2 separate regions of the Homo sapiens genome follow, and region 2 is linked to region 1. The links are contacts of gene promoters, found by promoter capture Hi-C in blood cells and fetal thymus (Javierre and others, 2016). All regions are on one chromosome and are shown on one strand. The core of a region is centred on a gene start or on the middle of the fragment in contact, and the rest is flanking DNA. Distances in the headings are between cores, read along the strand shown.

Region 1 (5,788 bases), core at 2,272-4,771:
GCCCTATTCTCCATGTATTCATCTCTTCCCTCTTTGCCTCCCTTCCCCCAAACTCTTGCAACTACTGATCTTTTACTGTCTCTATAGTTTTGCCTACTAGTGTTTTTTTCTCTCACACTTTTAAGTAAGTGCTATGCACACACAGCTTCAAGACAAGTTTCTTATCTCTGCCATCCAATCAGATTACCTCCTCTAACTCTTTTATATAATTTATCTTTTCCTAAGAACCTCCTGGAGGGTGGTGGAAGAGATCTGCCTACTATAAGCTGCAGTAGAGATAGCTTTTGTTCCCTAGTATCTATTCTTCTCTTCTTTCTTTTAATAATAAAACAATCCCACCCTGTCAAGGTTTGACTGAGCCCATGGCTAGATGCTACATTTTCTTCCTTCCTTGAATATAGATGTGACCTATGGGATATGAGCAGAAAGGATATATGCATGCAAGTAATAAGAACTGACAAAATTGAGAAAATAAGACATTTACCATGGAACTTTAAATTTGTATCCCTTTATAGGACCATACTATTGAAAGGATATTATGAATTATATTTTAAAATAAATCCTGTAATTATATTTTGAAAGACACATTTATACTGCTTTGTAATTTTTGGTAATAAAAGTGTTTATTGGTTAAAGGAAAATGACTTTGAATGTAATGCAGTTTGTATAACCCTGTTTTGAATTAAAAAAAATTTACATGAGTATCAGAAAACTAAAACAAAAAACAAAAAAGCTGAAGTTTCAAGTTTTAGAAGACTCTGTGTGAAACATGAGCATTAAAGTATAATGGACAAACAAAAGCCTAAAACAATGAGAAAAAAGAATGGCCGCATCTGTAATCCCATCTGTAATCCCAGCACTTTGGGAGGCTGAGGTGGGAGGATTGCTTGAGGCCAGGAATTCCAGGTTACAGTAAGTTATGACCAGGCCATTGCATTCCAGCCTGGGTGAAAGAGCGGGAGACTTTGTCTTTAAAAAAAAGAATGGCCACAGAGCTGGAAGGAGAATCAGGGGACTGGGTTTTACGTAAGTGAAAGGAAGCAAGACTTTTTAGAAGTGAGCAACATGTCCAAATGAAACAGAGAAATCTAATAAAATAAGTATTAAAAGAATTTAATAATTAAGATATTATAAAATGGGTATGTCATGAAGTTATGAGATTAACTATGTACATATAAATCTTCTGGAATATAATAGGCGTTCAATAAATTTTGTGATCAATTCCTTGTTTTATTCAAAGAATACTTACTACTAGTTAGGAATATTGGGACTAGAAAATAATACCCCACAATGAAACTCTCAGAAGCAGCCTCAGAAGCAAAAGTTTTTCTCTGACCTTCTCCTGCCTTCCTGTCTCTTGGTCCCATTCTCCCCTGACACTAGCCATAGAAACTAGGCAGGCCATAGAAACTAGAACCTCTTTTCCCCAAAGCCAGTCATAAATCCTGGAAATATTACTTTAATTTTCTCCCGCCTTTCTTTGTAAAAACTGGCCATAAAGAAATTATCTGATCTACCTTTTTTGACTGTAGGTCCTAAGACCCTCATTGCAGAGAGGGTCCCGCCCTACACCCAGAAGGAAGGAATGCATGCCCAGAGAGTCCAAGAAGAATCTAGACAGACAGGCCTTGCTGGGTTTCCCCACTCAGGCTATTAGCATTAGAGCATACCCTTTTGTCCAATCATATTTCTACATGGCTGTCCATACTTTGTTGGATGTACAAATGAACATTACAATTTCCCCTGTATCTTTGGGTCTTCATTCTGAAGGTTCTCATGTATATATGCTAAATAAACTTGCATGCATTTCCTCCAATTACTCTGTCCTTTGTGAGTAGATTTTTCGGTGAACCTCAGCGATCAGAGAGGAGAGCTACAGGAGCCCTGCTTGAACCTTGAAATGCTATGATGACAGACCGTAGCCTTAAAGCAGTTTATAGTGTTGTAGGGTAAACACATAAACAGGCCAATATCATTCTTTGCCATGAGGGATATGATGAGAGGAAGTACATGGAGGTTAACTGAGTTATTTCTTTTAGTTTCTTTGTTTTTGGCATGTGAATTATGAAACTTTAAAACACCTCCAGTGCAAAAAAAATTTTTTTTAAATTAACATGGTGGTTGGTGCACTGTGTTTCTAAAATATGGAGTACAATGTAAAGCAATGCATTCTTTTTTTAAAAATTTATTGTTATTTTGAAAAATTTTTGTAGAGATGAGGTCTCACTGCCTTGCCCATAGCTGGTCTTGAACTCCTGGGCTAAAGCGATCCTCCTACCTCGGGCTCCCAAAGTGCTGGGATTACAGGCGTGAGCCACTGCGCCCAGCCGCATTCTTGTTTTCATCTGTGAAATACGTTTTTAAGGTAAATACTTAAAGTTGATGGAGACACCTGGTCTACTTAAGCTCTCATTCAGAACACACTGCCTTGTGCTTTTAAAAAAATTAAATGGATAATCTAAATTGGCAGCTACCAATTAATTTATATCCATAGTTGCTAAAAAATGTTAGTGTAAGTTCATTTTTATTAGTCGCATCATTTTGAGTTTTAAACTATTTCACATGCAGTAAAATTTATACCTCTTATGGGTTTTGTCAAACAGTGGTTTAGTCACCAACACAATCACGGTATAGAAGCTCTCAAGCTCCTTTTCAGTCACCCCCTTCCTCCAGCCCTTTGCCCTGGTCGCCACTGATCAGTATTCTCTCCTTTTAAAAACACTTATTATTTGGAAATAATTATAGACACAGGAAATTGCAAAAATACTACAGCACCTAGAGTCCCGTGTACCTATCACCTAGTTTCCTCCAATGGTGACATCTTACACAACTGTAGTACAAGATCAAAAAACTATGTCATGTAGTTTGAAGGCAGGTTTTCCTTTCACTTCTTCGCCTGCATTTTCTCCTTTCATTTCCAACAAATTTAACTCTGTTGTTAGAAGGAGCAGATGCTAGTTTTCTTTCAGATGTCTGCTATTTCAGTTCGATTACCCCTGTTACTCCTACATTTTTTCTAGTCTTTATCCCCATCGTTTCGCCCCAATTTAATTTTGCTGCTAGTTTTTTTTTTTTCTCCTCTGGGATATGTGCCACAGATGGTACTATTGTCAATATTCGAATTCCTAACTTCTCCCTCCATCCGTAAGTTTTCAAGGGGTAGCCGTGCTTGTGCTTAATTGTGGTGTTTACAGGACTTTTTGTAGCGTAAGCATGCTGGCATGGTTCCCCAACCTCTTAGGGGGATGCTAGTAACCCGCTCCCCCGTCAACGAGCCGCCTTTGTGCTCCGCGGAGGGCACCGCCTGCGTTGGGTTGGAGGTGGGGGTTGGCGGGGGAGAGCTGCCCGCCAGGCGAGGGGCGGGGCCTTGGCGGGGGTGGTCGCGGGCGGCGGGGAGGTCTCGCTTCCCTCCTCTCCACCCGCTCCCAGTCCCGGCCTGGGTCTCAGCCCCGCCCTGCCCAGAGCGCGCGGCCGATCACGTCACCGGCCTGCGCTAGGCGGCCCCCACGGCGCGGGAAGGCGCAGTGCGCACGCTCCGACTCGGCCGTGGCGGACCTGACTGAAGGAGGCCGCGGACCTGACTGAAGGAGGCCACGGCCACTTCTGGTTGGCCTCGGGGCGCGCTGGCTCGGCTCTTCCTCCGCCCTCGAGGCCCCCGCAGTCCCATCATTCAGTTCCGTAGGGTCACCGGCGCGGCAGTGGCCTCGCAGGGCGCTGGGTCCCTCTCCCCAGCTCTCCTCCCCCTGGCCCCGTCGCCCCGCCCTCGCCGGGCTGGGCTGCGGGGTCAGGGGCCGAGCGGAGAGGGGTGAGTATTCCCCACAGCCCTTGCCGGTTGTCTCCTCCCGGCTCTGCTTCCCACACGGTCCTTGCCCCACTCCTAGGACAGGGAGGAAGGGCACGCGCGGGTAGGCGGGAAACAGCCCAGTCCTGAACAAAAGGCCGGGGAAGCGGGTCCCCGCCGGTAACTGCAGGCCTGTGCTGGCCGCCGCGAGCGGGGAAGGGCGAGGACACTCCCTCCTCGGGGACCCGGTCCCCGTCGCGCACACGGTGTCACCAGCACACCTGGCCCAGTACCCAAAGCACCCTCGAAGTGGGTAGTAACTACTTTGTGTTTAAAATCCACATACTGATAGCAAATCTTTGGTTGAAACAGTATTAAATTACTGGGGCTTCCAGTGGCTGAGTCCAACTTAATTTGAAGTTTCAGATTAAGTATCAGGAGGAATAACTTGATATTTAGAGCCAACAGGTCTTTCTTTTTTTTTTAAACCTCCCAAAAAACCTATAAAATCAAGAATTGGCGGGGAGGACCGGAGAATGATAAAGGAATAGTTGACTGATTTATAGAAACTTTTAGTGGCGGTAAAAATTACAAAAGTATTGGAAATAAGGCAAAAGGACAGCATGTTTTTTTCAGAGTCAAAATGGAGCCTAACAGGCCCACCTGAAGATGATTTAGATGTCTAGGGGACTATATTTTGTTTGGCATGATGATATTGATTAGGGCCTAGGCTTTGTAGTTAACATCTTTTTCATTAATGGAGATGCAAATTATTTCTGAGTGGGAGAGAAAAAAATACAGTACTCCTAAAGGTTGTAGTTTTAGTGCCTTGTAGGATATTAGCCATTTTTCTTTTCTTTTTTTTGAGACAGAGTCTTGCTCTGTCGCCCAGGCTGGAGTGCAGTGGCACGATCTCGGCTCACTGCAACCTCTGCCTCTCGGGTTAAAGCAATTCTCCTGCCTCAGCCTCCCGAGTTGCTGGGACTACAGGTGCCCGCCACCACGCTCAGCTAATTTTTGTAAGTTTAGTAGAGACGGGGTTTCACCATATTGGCCAGGCTGGTCCGGAACTCCTGATTTTGTGATCCGCCTGCCTCGGCCTCCCAAAGTACTGGGATCACAGGCGTCAGCCACCGCGCCCGGCCAATATTAACCATTTTTCTGTCTAACCTATCAAACTTACCATCCTTTCTTCAGTGTTTATGCTCAGTTCCTGAAATGCTTTTGAGCACACTAAGCCATTCAGCTTGTTCCATTGTGAGTTTAATAAATCTTTGTCACAGGTTCATTTTGAGTCATATTTATAACTTTTGTTATTGGACAATGGTCTCTATTCTTTAGTGGCAAAAACAAGTTTATGCTTCTCAGGATGGAAGGACATAGGCCCTGTGTGGTACTCAAATACATCTTAGGACTCCAAGTAGAATCCTTTCTCATTGCTTCAGAAAGGTTAAACAGTGACCAGAGGAAATGTTACAGAACTTTGACCAAAAAATAAATCCTGAGTATTGAGAAATTAAAATTAAAGTCTTGCAAATTGCAGAGTTTAAAAATTGTTATTGATATTTTAAATTGAAGAAATTAGTGGAAATAGTAGTTCTAAATTGCATACATTTGAATGTGGAGTGTTAAAAGATTATTTCCCTTGTCTCCTGTTTTATTTAGGATAAGGTTAACTGAGATTTTGGTACATGGTGGGCCATTCAAGTTATGTATAATGTTTTGTGACAAACTACATGTCGACAGTAGTTCCTGATGCCTAATACATTTCTGAGAAAGGTAAAGCAGCCCTTTAGGAAAAACAAGGAGAGTAAAGCTTACAGAAGATTTCTTAAGATGGGCTTGATTTGATTATCTTTGAAACCTAGAGATGTGTTTGGGACCCAGGAGGTTGTGTTTGAATCATAAATATAATCAGGGAACCTTAAGAAAAAAAAAGCCATGGAGATCATTTGGTGATTATCTATTGAAAACAAATGTTTTCAGGGGACAAGCAGCCTGAGTATA
Region 2 (6,021 bases), core at 37-2,536, 450 kb before region 1:
ATTGGTGTTCACAATTTTTTTCTTAAGCCATCTAATGATTATAATTTATTTGCCAGTTATTGAATGCAACTGGCAATGAATATTACAGTAATTCAATGATTTACGAAAAAAATGAGAATACCAATATCAAGTTTGCAGATGTAATAAAAGATATGCTTTAATTCACAAATAGTTGGAGGTTTTATTTTTTAATTTGTTTTTTCTAGTTTTCCAATTGTGGCCAGGTAAGATGTATTATACAATTTTTGTATTTAGAAATTTATTAAACAATTTTTTTTGTGGTCTAATCAATGATTGTTATAATTTCCCATGGATACTTAGTAAATATCCTTATTCTCTGTCTACATTTTAATCTATTGGTTTAATATCTTCATATTGTCTCTAATTTTTGTCCCTTGCTCTTTCAAATATATATACAATGCCCACACTGTTGTCAGTCCATTTCTCCTTGTGCCTCTACCAATGTTTGCCTTACATATTTTAATTCTATGTTCATTAGCACAATGTTTATCTTTACTGTGGATTCTATCCTTTATTAAGTCACTTTCTTTTTCATGTTTAGTAATCACTGCCTTGAATCTATTTTGTCCAAAATTAATATTGCAAGCTCAGCTTTCCTTTTGTGTTTGCATAATAAATCATCTCCCATCCATTTATTTTTAAACTTTATGGCTATATTTTATTTAACTGTTTTACTTGTTAGTAGAAAAGTTTCTAAAATGCATCTAATGAGATGTCCTTTAAAATCAGAAAAAAAACTTTCTTTATCCTATGCTTTAAAGGTATTAAAGTTAAGACAAACAATATTGTTTGCCTTTACCTATGAAAAATGAAGAAGCTAGCTTATTTTTCCTATTCTATATCTCCCTCTTCCATGTCCCAATCCTTATTATAAACATCTGGTGTTTTAGGCATACATTTTTGTTTTTATCATCTCTTCTTCAGTAATAATTTTTGACCTTAACCTTCAATTTTGTAACCATACTCTTAGCATCCAAAATAATGACTTCAACTTTATCTAATTTTTTAATAACATAACTTCACTATGCTTGAGTTTTAATTTTTATACATTTCTTAGTTTAACAGAGAGTAAATGGATATTGTTTTCCAAATCCTTATATATAGGAAAGTGTCTTTGATGACACTCATCAAACTATAGTTAACTACTGTTGTCTAGTATTTAGTGGTACAGAGAAGTCTGATACCACCTTGATTTTTGTTCCTTGGGATATCATCTGTTTTTATCTTCTAAAGATTTGAAGGACATTTTCCTGATACTTTTAATTCTCAGATGTTTCAATTCTATATCTAGGTATTGGTCTCTTTAAATTACTTGCCTGGAATAATGTGAACCTTTCCAATGTTCGTACTTAGTTTCTTTTTTGTTGTAATGTTGGAAAGTTGGGGAAAATCTTTTTAGTTAATAGGTGTAAAGCAAAGATCTGGTAAACCTCACAAGGGTCATTTTTTGCAAATGTTATTAACAACTAGATAAACAGTTGCAATGTTATTGATGACTGGGGAAATATGCTTAAGAATCTTGCCAGAAGGATTTTTACAGTTTATTGGTATCATGGGAAACTAGTACACTTGTAGAAATCACATTACATGTATATATCATGTGCTATAAAAATATTAATAAATTTGACTAAGTGACCCTTCTTTTCCGAAACTATCCAAATATAAATTCTGAACGGTGAGAAAAACAGTATACATAAAATGTGTTCTGTGATATATTTACAGTAAGAAATATTCAAAGTAACCCAAAAATTCATCAGTAATATAATGCGTAAATTGCAGTACATCTAAATTATGGAACATGATTCAACCATTAAAAACAATGCTTACAAATGGCATTATTTGAGAAATGTGGGAACCCGTTGGTGATATAATGCCATGTGAAGCATACCAAATACAGAATTGAGTGTAACATGATTTTAGTTATGCAAATGATAAAAGGTAACGTATAAAAGACTGTAGGTGAATAAATAGTATTAGCTTAGAGTAACGTACCTGAGTGATTTTTTTAAATACAATTTTTATAAACTTTCTGGAATGTCTTATTTCTAACATAAATGAAAATGATTGTTTACTCACACACACACAAACCCAGTTTTGTCAATAGCTAGAAAATATGACCACATATTAAGTTTACTTCAAATAAACCTAATCCCTAAAATTTGTTAAATAAAATGCAGATATTTCTAACTTTAAAATAATTCATTTCAATAAAATAAGATTTGAAGCATTTTAATTTTCAGACTATGAAGAACAAGTTTTTCTATTTTGGAAAGTTAGGTACTAGAAATAACCTAGAAATCATTTACATTATTCCTGGGCATTTGTTTGCACAGGGACACAAATTTATTTTTAGCACCACGTACTCTACCCTGGGCCACCTCACTTAGTCACCCACTCACAGTCTGGAGAACCAGTATCATTCACTGTGCTACTTTTTTTGGTCTGTTTTTCAATCACAAAAATATTTTACATGTTATTTTCACAAAGAATCCACAGAATAGTATTCAATCCTTTAGGCTTCCAAAAGAGCAAGAGAGAGACCCAGAAATAACATCAAAAACAAAATCAAATAAACAAAACCAAAATATTCCACAAAGAAGTAGATCCTTAGCATCTAAAAACAGATAAAGGGCCAAAGAGTTGGTGATCTAAATATTGTAGCTGGTATTTGCCATGCAAATGAAAATAAGAGTGCTGTGACTGGCTGGTGATTTCTACAAAAGGCGAACTTTTCATATGGAAGCCATGAAACATGGGAAGTCTGATAGGTAACAAGGGAGAAGCAACCACTCTTGCCAAATAAATGTTTTATGTGCAAGAGAAGTGCAAAAGGACTCTGATAAAAACAATTAAAATTTCATTAAAAGTATTAAAATACTTTAGGAGGTGGCCTTTGATTTTTCACTGTTAATTTTCAGAATAAGCAGCCATGTTTAATGGTGCAGAAACTGAGCTTCTTGCATTCTGTATTTAGCTTAACCAGAAAAGGTAGATAACAAGAAAGAGTGTAACATAAGCAATTTGTTTCGAGAAAAAAATCTCTGGGTGATACATTCACATTTGTACGTGCATCCCAAATAGTAGGTGCCTTCTATGTGCCTGAGGCTAAGACGTACTGATTCATTATTACACAAAAGTCACAATTTAGTGCAATTACCTCTCAAAATGAGTTATTAAAAAAGTTAAATAGCATAAAAACTTTCTGTTGAAAAATGAAATATCATTGAGATATTTTAGCATTCATGTTATATGTTCAGCTCTCAAGAAGCATTTATTGTCTTCGTATGAATTTCAGAGGTTGGGTAAATTTTTACTAGAGCAATAAATCAGCGTTACAGCCACATGGTCAAACTCTAGGTGTATATGTGAGCTTTTCCATTAAATATACTCCCTACCGCCAACACACAGACAAATAACATTTAGCCAAATACTTAATAAAATAACCTTAAAGAGCATTTCGAAATACCATAGTTTAAAGAGAAACACAAGGAAAAGGTGTTAGAAATATTAACATTGTCTCCGCTTTCACAAGTTGTAAACCATTATATATTCTGGTCATTCCCTACTTTCTCCTTTTTGACCTAAAAGATGGAAGCCTTTGTCTCTTTCCAATAAATGATTTAATTCATTGTAAAAATCCCAGGGCTTCTATTTGAGAGTCTAGGTACAGTTCTTACTATTCTTACTAACACCTAGTAAGATAAACTGGATAATTATAGTCATCCCTTAGGAAAAACTTTTTTCCCCTCTGTGGTAGGCAGAATGGCCCCTCAAAGATATCTATGTCCTAATCCCCAGAGCCTGTGAATGTGGGGCTTCTAAATCCTGTAAGCCTGTGAAGCTTAGGGCACCCCTCACTGATTCCTACAACTACAAGAAACTGAATTTTGCCCAGAACTTAAATAAGCTTGAAAGTGAATTCTTCTCAGAGCCTCTAGGTAAGAGTCTGGCAGGCCCACACTTTAATTTCAACCTTGTGAAACTTGGAACAAAGAAATCAGCCCAGCAATCCCAGACTTCTGACCTACAAAACTGTGAGATAATAAACTCATTGTTTTAAGCTGCTAAATTTGTGGTAATTTGCTATGGCAGCAACTGAAAACTAATATTCTCCCACTCCTGCTCCTAAATGACTATTTCATTTTGGATAATAGTTTTTCATGAGGTATCTAGAAACTAGTAAACTACGGATCCTAAAACGTTACTGTACTTGGCCTATTGCAGTATGTACTTGCTAATTCTATCATTTTGGTTAAAGCAATTCTTCTTCTGGTTAAAAATAAATTCCATGTTTTACAAAGCTAAGTGTTGTGGTTCCCCTGGTCTCATAGCTCTTTTAGTGGCTTTGAATTGTGCCTTGTGTGAATAGTTTTTTCCCTTCCACAGTTAAGAGGAGGGAAGCACAGGGAGGGGAAGAAGAATGGCACACACTGCATCTTTTCTTCGGCTATTTTGCCAGCCAGGCCTCTAACTCTGCCTTCCTCTCATTCACAAAGGAATGGCCCTTTAATTGTTGACAAGGTCCCACCAATTCCATCTAGACTGTAGTGAAGCTAGTTCCTATGGCAGGGAAAATATAAATACAACTGAAACCATAATCTAGGATTCACCATTCATATCAACTTGCTGATGGTCTCTATTTTGACCTTGTACTCTGATTCAAAGTAATTAGGATCTAGTTTTAATCCTTGTGCCAAAAGAGAGTTCATTTCTTTCTTCTATTTGCTAGATTCCCTGACTCGGTTCCCATCCAACTGGATCTGAATGTCTCAAGAGACTAGGGCTCACATTTTTTTAAAAAACTTTTAGGTTCAGGGGTACATGTCCAGGTTTGCTATATAGGTAATTTCATGTCACAGGGGTTTGTTGTACAAATTATTTCATCACTCAGGTACTAAGCCTAGTATCCAGTAGTTATTTTTTCTGATCATCTCCCTCCTCCCACCCTCCATCCTCAAGGAGGCCCCAGTGTCTGTTGTTCCCCTCTTTGTGTCCACATCTTTTAATCATTTAGCACCCACTTATAACTGAGAACATGTGGCATTTGATTTTCCGTTCCTGCATTAGTTTGCTAAGGATAATGGTCTTCAGTAGAGCTAACATTCTTGAGAGTTCTTTCCTCATATTAATTCTAAGGGACTGTATCTGCCACTGGACTTCCATTTCCACTGCTGAGTCTGCACTACCTGCAGTTGGATTCCCTTGATATCAACAGTTAGTTCAACTGCCTAGATCACCATTTTTTTATTGCCATCTACTCCTGGTGCATAGTTTTTCCTACCTGTAAAGCATTCCCACTGTTCATTTTATACCATCCTAATGGTGACTACTTGCATGTACCTCTGCCTATTACCTGTACCAGTCTATAAGCTCTCCAAGGCAGATCTACTTCCTGCCAATGGTCTGCTGTGGGACCTCTCTCATCTGCTTCCTCTATCATCCTAGAATGGCCCTGTCTTAGAATCCAAAGCACACTTGTTCTGATTGCATAAGCACAGCACTTCTATTTAAGAAGTTCTTTAAAACGTCTTTGTCACAGAACAGATTACAATCATGGAGGTAGAGCTTTGCATCAATAGCATGAATCATTGTAATTTTAGTTTGTGTGTTGATTTTTCCAGGAAGAAGGTCATCACTACATACTCATCTTCTAAAAATATCATATCCCATATACGTCAGTAAAAAGTTTACACAAAAAAGCACATCTCCTCTGAAAGAACTTAAAATTTCTGGTTAAGCATATTTAAAATTTGTTTCATTGTTTCACCTTTTTCTTTTGAAATTTACAGAAATTAAACTCATAAGAAGAAACTTAAAGTCAAAAAATTCAGTTTTTTTCCCTTAACACTATTGTTAGCACAGATCTGAAACAGTATGCATCTAATATAACATATTTCAAAAACTTCTTAAATTTTATCTAGAACAAATTGTTTATTGTTTCACCCAAAATTTTAAATTATTTCACTATCTCATAGTTTTTACTATTTTAGGGTGATATGC

The links. The method cuts DNA at HindIII sites, captures the fragments that hold promoters and counts their contacts. A CHiCAGO score of 5 or more calls a contact.
Region 2: a fragment that was not itself captured here is called in contact with the fragment with the promoter of ATG10 in region 1 in 10 of 17 cell types (non-activated CD4 T cells, total B cells, total CD4 T cells and 7 more); the score reaches 8.3 in non-activated CD4 T cells.

What each region holds. Positions count from the first base shown.
Region 1 is chr5:81,968,502-81,974,289 of GRCh38, forward strand. ATG10 (autophagy related 10) reads left to right here and starts at 3,522. Exons shown (of 8, transcript NM_031482.5): 1 at 3,522-3,805. RefSeq lists enhancers at 3,055-3,612, 3,613-4,168 and silencers at 3,183-3,512, 3,683-3,922. The HindIII fragment of the contact is 10,147 bases long and covers 1-5,595 here.
Region 2 is chr5:81,520,370-81,526,390 of GRCh38, forward strand. The region is part of intron 4 of SSBP2 (single stranded DNA binding protein 2); the gene reads right to left. Among named protein-coding and RNA genes, the nearest start is that of ACOT12, 130 kb to the left of the region's middle. The HindIII fragment of the contact is 5,147 bases long and covers 1-3,860 here.